2 separate regions of the Homo sapiens genome follow, and region 2 is linked to region 1. Evidence: promoter capture Hi-C in 16 types of primary human blood cells and fetal thymus (Javierre and others, 2016). All regions are on one chromosome and are shown on one strand. The core of a region is centred on a gene start or on the middle of the fragment in contact, and the rest is flanking DNA. Distances in the headings are between cores, read along the strand shown.

Evidence for each region. The method cuts DNA at HindIII sites, captures the fragments that hold promoters and counts their contacts. A CHiCAGO score of 5 or more calls a contact.
Region 2: a contact is called between the fragment with the promoter of LCN6 here and the fragment with the promoter of PMPCA in region 1, in 2 of 17 cell types (megakaryocytes and M0 macrophages). The highest score is 6.1, in megakaryocytes.

The regions. Positions count from the first base shown.
Region 1 is chr9:136,408,581-136,411,918 of GRCh38, reverse strand. It overlaps PMPCA (peptidase, mitochondrial processing subunit alpha), which reads right to left and starts at 1,261. Exons shown (of 13, transcript NM_015160.3): 1 at 1,180-1,261. The coding sequence starts at 1,250. ENTR1 (endosome associated trafficking regulator 1) reads left to right here and starts at 1,305. Exons shown (of 10, transcript NM_001039707.2): 1 at 1,305-1,591; 2 at 1,680-1,829; 3 at 2,852-2,920. The coding sequence starts at 1,522. RefSeq lists enhancers at 1,023-1,072, 1,103-1,192, 2,043-2,202 and silencers at 1,403-1,492, 1,633-1,682. The HindIII fragment of the contact is 5,612 bases long and covers 414-3,338 here.
Region 2 is chr9:136,747,104-136,750,020 of GRCh38, reverse strand. It overlaps LCN6 (lipocalin 6), which reads left to right and starts at 1,496. Exons shown (of 7, transcript NM_198946.3): 1 at 1,496-1,627; 2 at 2,458-2,597. The coding sequence starts at 1,538. LOC100128593 (a long non-coding RNA gene) reads right to left here. Exons shown (of 3, transcript NR_033913.1): 2 at 1,449-2,917; 3 at 110-1,275. The HindIII fragment of the contact is 9,973 bases long and covers 1-2,917 here.

The DNA of each region.
Region 1 (3,338 bases), core at 12-2,511:
TGTTTTGTCTGGGTTAAAAGTGAGCATCTGCCTTTCTACAGGACTTATTTCTACAGACTTTGGAAGACAAAGCAGAGGCTGACAACAAAGGCTCAGCCACGGGACCTGGAGCAAGCTGGTTCCGTCCTTTGGGTCTTAGTTGCTATCTCTGTAAAAACAGGGCTTATTAACAGTAACTCACTCTAAGTGCAGTTTGTACACATAAAGCACTTAACAGCTCTGCCCTCCAACAGCACCACCGAAGTCTTGGATAAAAGCCATATCCCTTATTAACCTGGTCCGAAGGCGGGGTGTGACTTGGCCTCTGTCTCCCTCTCCAAACTCATCTCTTGAACCCCCACACTCCCATAGGTCCTGGTCACACTGATTCTTGTCAATTCCTGGAACACATTTGACTCATCAACCCCAAAGCTTCTTCACCGTTCCAGGGCTTGCCCTTTGCCCATGCCTACCCCTTCTTTCATTCTTCAGCTCTTCCCTTAAATGTCACCCTGATGGAGGACTATCCCTCACCAGTCTAGTCTTTCCTGCTATTTTCTATCATGAAAGGCTGCTTGTTTACTCCAAAGCATTTACGCGACTGCCGATATTTTGTTTACGCTCCAGCCTGTATCCATCTCCTGGAGGCAGCACCTCCGCACCCCTGAAACGGCGCTCGTTGTGTGGGGAGGGGCGACGCCTGTGCTGTCGGAACAAAGTTCCAGCGTGGGGAAAGGCAGGCCCGGTCACTTGGGTGGGAGGAGCGGTGGGTACGGAAAGGGTTCTTAAACGTCAGAGATCAACGGACAGACCGCAGCAACCGAGAGCCTGGACCCTGGTGTCAGAACCCTGCGGGTCTAACAGAGCTGGGCCCCCACCGGCTCAGCCTCCTGAAGGAGCACGCGGTAGGTGAAGCGCGGGGGCAAATATGAGGCATGGCCTCGGAGAAGGCCCGTCGACCCGGGAAGTGAGGGGGGGAGAGGACCCAGCAGCCGGGGAGAGGAGAGACAGATGGGACTGCGTCCCCGGGCTCGAGGCGCAAAGCAAGGCAGGGCCCCCGTCGCCTCGGGGACACCAGTGTCCCGAAGTGCGAGCCCGTCCCACGGGCGCCATGTCACCTGTAGAAACCGAAGACGGAGCGTCCAGAAAGACTCGAGCCGCCCCCGCCCCAGGCCGAAGCCTGGTTCGCCTTTGGCTCACCTCAGCCGCGAACAGCCCCAAGAACCCGAGCCCCGCAGCAACCGCGTCGCCGCCAGCACCACAGCCGCCATCTTGCGTCTCCGCCCCGCTTCAGTCGTCACTTCCGCTTCCGCCCACGGCTTCCCCTCCCCCTCGCCGACGGCCCAAGGCGTTCAGGCACGCGCTTTCGGTGCTCGGAGCGGAAGCAGCGGCGAGAGGCTCGGAGGCGCGGGGGCGGCCGAGCGGCGGGCGACGGGGGCGGGCGACGGGGGCGGGCGACGCGGGCCGCGGCACGGGCGGAGCCGGGGCCATGGAGCCGCCGCTGCCGGGCTAGGCAGGTCGTGCCCCGCCGGGCCGGCGGCGATGTCGGGCTACCAGCGCCGCCCGGGCGCCACCCCGCTGTCCCGAGCCCGGAGCCTCGCCATTCCCGACGGTGAGCGGGGCAGGGGCCGAGTCCAGCGGTCCAGGTGGGCGGCGGCCGCCCCGGCACGCAGTAAAGTCGCTGTTGTCGTTGCTTCCAGCTCCAGCGTTCTATGAGCGCCGGTCTTGTCTCCCCCAGCTAAATTGTGAGCGCCCCCATGGCAGGGACCTGGACTCCCCCTTCTTCGGCATTCGGCCGGCCTTTATGTGCTATGTGCCCAGCCCGGTGCTGGCTTCCGTGGGAGACACAGGTGAGAGACGAGGGCGCCGGCCCCGGGGACGCTTCCAGTTCCCGCGCCACGTGTGGCACCTCCGCTGCAGCACGAGCTCGTCCATTGACCCATCAATGTGCAGAGCGCTCACTGCGTGCCAGGCACTCGGAATTCAAAGGCGGAGTCCCCTGCTAGGAGCTCACAGTCTGGTTGCGGGGAGACCTCCCCCAAGACAGACAGTTCCAGTACAGGATGGTTAGTGCCCGGGGAGCACAGGAGCCCGCCCGCTTTCCTCGTGGGGCTGGAGTCGGGGTGCCTTCACCTAGTGGGCAGTGATTGGAAACCGAGCTGGAGCATTCCATCTGCCTCCACAGCCGGGCAGTGGCCAGATCTGGTTCGTCCTCGTTCTACCCAAGCAGAAGTGCTGCTGGGTGCCCGGGGTGTGCAGGAGTGTTTGTGTGGTTATGCCAGGATCTGAGGACATTCGGGGGTTGTCACAAGACAAGAGGACGCGCTTGCCCCGGCTGGGCTTCAAAATCTGCTGAGGAGCCGCTTTCAGACCACGGACACCAGGGCCAGTCTGCAAGTCAGGCCATCTCCAGGGTCACAAGTCTGGGAGCTTGTGTTTTTTTTAAAGTTTTCTCGGCTGACCGGGCGCAGTGGCTTACGCCTGTAATCCCAGCACTTTGGGAGGCCGAGGCAGGCGGATCATGAGGTCAGGAGATTGAGACCATCCTGGCTAACAGGGTGAAAACCCGTCTCTACAAAAAATACAAAAAAATTAGCCGGGCGTGGTGGCAGGTGCCTGTAGTCCCAGCTACTCGGGAGGATGAGGCAGGAGAATGGCGTGAACCCAGGAGGCGGAGCTTGCAGGGAGCCGAGATCGCACCACTGCACTCCAGCTTGGGCGACAGAGCAAGACTCCGTCTCAAAAAAAAAAAAAAAGTTCTCTAGACTGTGAGAACCACTGCAGTGGAGACTCCATGTGCAAAAGAAAAAAACCAAATGTGAGGTCATAAAGACTTCCTGCCAGCATGGTGGGTGACATTGTTTCTTTGCAGATTTTGGCTATGGAAAGGGGAAATGTTCTAAGCAGAGCCCGTCAGGAGCCCACGGGACACATTTTGGAGGTAGAGTAGTTCAGCAACCTTTTCTTCTTGTCTCCATCCAACACAGTGCCAGGCACGTGTCTGGTGGGACTGTCAATGTGACTGGCTATGTGGTGTAGCTGGAGCCCAAAAGAGCAGGTGGGGGTGGGATTTCAAGGGTTCAGTCTTGATCCTAGAGTAGCAGCGAGGTGACATCAGGGAGCGGGGAAGCCCCACCTGGGGGGCTGGGGCCACAGGAGCCAGCTTTACATGGGGCTCACAGCTGGGAGGGTCGAGTGTGGCTGCTTAAGTCCCCGGAGGGTGGGAAGGCGGTGGCAAGAGGGAGAAGGGAAAAGTGGGCGTTATTTAGGCTACCTAGGTAGGAAAGTCGGGAAGAGGGTCAGGGGGCACTGGGTCCCCAGCGTTGCAGCACCTGAGGAGCTGGTTGTTGTTGTTGTTT
Region 2 (2,917 bases), core at 247-2,746, 340 kb before region 1:
CAGGCTCCCCGCAGCCCTTAGGGACACTAGTGGGGCTGGCAGGTGTTTCCTTCTCAGAGGCCTGGCCCAGCTGCTCGGCTTCCTCCTTTTTGTATTTTTATTTTATTTTAGAGATGGGGTCTTGCTCCATCACCCAGGCTGGAGAGGAGTGGCACGATCACAGCTCACTGCAGCCTCAACCTCCTGGGCTCAAGCAATCCTCCTACCTCAGCTTCCTGAGTAGCTGGGACTACAGGAGCACGCCACCATGTCCAGCTAATTTTTAAACTTGCTTGTAGAGACGAAGTCTTGCTATGTCGCCCAGGCTGGTCTCAAACTCCTGGACTCAAGTGATCCTCCCGCCTCAGCCTCCTGAAGTGCTGGGATTACCGCGAGCAGCCACGGCTCCCTCCTGAAGGCTCCAGGCCTAAGTGTCCCGCTCCCTTGTTCTGTGGCTCAGCCCCTGGGCAACTCCTGCTTGCCATGGCTGTGGCTGGCACCTCCGTGGCCCCACTGCCCGGTCAGTCTTCGCAGGCCCAGCCCCCAGTAGCTGTGTGGTTTCTGCCTTCCTCCTGCACTCTGGTGGTCACAGGCCCTGCTGCGTGGGTACAGGGCAGGTGGCCAGGGCTGCAGCATAAGCTCTGTGAGTGCAGGCGGCCCTGGGCACTGGAGCCTTGTTGCATGGACGTGCTCCTTGCACCCTTGTTGATGAATGAGCGAAGGTGTGTGGGAGTGAATCCCAGAGGGTGCAGGCCACGGCACTGGGGGAGGACCCTCCCGGCTGCCTCCCAGTGGGCTTCAGGGGCTCAGATAGACCCTGCCGAGCACCTCTGTCCTCTGCTCCCGGACTGGGGCTGCAGAGAGCTCTCAAGGGGCCTTGGGAGGCACAAGCAGGCCAGGGTCCCAGGGAGGGGAGGCAGGAGGCAGCAGGGCCGGATGGTGGGCTGCAGAGGTGGAAGGAACAGGACAGTCTGTTCTGGGGGTGCTGGCTGTGGGGGACAGAGGCCAGGCCACAAAGCAGAATGGTGGGTGGGCCAGGAGGAGGTGGGAGCCTTTTTCAAAAGGCTTTCAGGGACTTTTTATATTTAATGATTGAAACAAAAGATATCCAAAACCGCAGTTCCTGAGAACCACTTGTTCTCGCCCTGGTTCCTCTCCTTGGGCTTGACCTTGGCCTCCTGCCGGGCCTGGCAGCGGACAGCAGTCTCCCTGCTTCCCAGGCTGGGCGAGGGAGAGCGTGGGTCCCCAGGAACGGGGGAGGTGGTGCGGCTGGCTTTAGGATGCCCATTCTGGAACCTTCTGGTGGAAGAAAGCAGGGGATCAGTATAGTATGGTTGATCCACACACTCCAGACCCTCTCCTGGCTGTGCAGCTGGTCTGATCTGGGCTCAGAGGCTGCCACTGCTCAGTGCTCCCCTGGGTAATTTTGCAGGAGGCCAGGAGGGTTCCTGGCAGTTAGTGCCACCCACACGGAGAAATTCAGAGCCATATAAACGGGTCTCCAGGGCCTGGAGGGACTGCACATCCTGGGCCTGCGGCGCAGTGTAGACCTGGGAGGATGGGCGGCCTGCTGCTGGCTGCTTTTCTGGCTTTGGTCTCGGTGCCCAGGGCCCAGGCCGTGTGGTTGGGAAGACTGGACCCTGAGCAGGTACAGTCCTCCTGGGGGTGGGGAGAGCTGGTCCTCGGGGGCCAGCCCCTCCTTTAAGGCCACACAGCTTCTGGGCCCCCCAGGGCTAGCCCAGACCAGCATGAGCAGTGGGGAATTAGTTGGGCCAGCCCTTGGGGAGTCCCACAGGCAGGAGCCTCAGGGCAGGAGGGGTGGATGCTGGAGGGTTGGAGGCTGGAGGGCTGGAGAATTGGAGGCTGGAGACTGGAGGTTGCAGGGCTGGAGGGTGTAGGGTTGGAGAACTGGAGGCTGGAGGGCTGGAGGCTGTAGGGCTGGAGAACTGGAGGCTGGAGGCTGCTGGGCTGGAGGCTGGAGGGCTGTAGAACTGGAGGCTGGAGGGCTGGAGGCTGGAGGGCTGCAGAACTGGAGGCTGGAGGGCTGGAGAGCTGGAGACTAGAGGCTGCAGGGCTGCAGGCTGGAGGTTGGAAGGCTGGAGGGCTGGAGCCTAGAGGCTGTAGGGCTGGAAGGCTGGAGGCTGGAGGGTTGGAGGTCTGGGGGGTTGGAAGCTGGAGGCTGGAGGGCTGGAGAACTGAAGGCTAGAGGCTGCAAGGCTGGAAGGTTGGAGGCTGGAGGGCGGGAGGGTTGGAGACTGGAGGCTGGAGGGCTGGATGGTTGGAGGGTGGAGGCTGGAGGCTGCAGGGCTGGAAGGCTGGAGGCTGGAGGGTTGGAGGCTGGAGGCTGGAGGGCTGGATGGTTGGAGGGTGGAGGCTGAGGCTGGAGGTTTGGAGGCTGGAGGCTGAGGCTGGAGGGTTGGAGGCTGGAGGCTGGAGGCTGGAGGGCTGGCGGCCCTAACGGGAGCCGCCTCAATGCAGCTTCTTGGGCCCTGGTACGTGCTTGCGGTGGCCTCCCGGGAAAAGGGCTTTGCCATGGAGAAGGACATGAAGAACGTCGTGGGGGTGGTGGTGACCCTCACTCCAGAAAACAACCTGCGGACGCTGTCCTCTCAGCACGGGTGAGTGGGCGGGTCCTGCCAGGCCTTCCCGCAGGCAGGACTGTGGCTCAGCCACATCATGTACTTTGCACATCTGCTCCCGGGCACCGCGGCCTGGGGGCTTCCCACGGCCCCTCTGCACCCCCGTCACTTTTCCCACTGGGCTCTGTGCAGAGCCACCAGCCCTCTGCCCAGCTACTCACATCTGTGTCCCTGGGGCCTCCAGGTGGCACTCCCACCTTCAATACCGCGGCGGGCACTGCTCTGACTATGCTCCTTCATGCATCCCTGTCCTGGGTCATCTGGGCTGCAGGCTGTGGTCAGAGCTGGGGAAGCCTGTC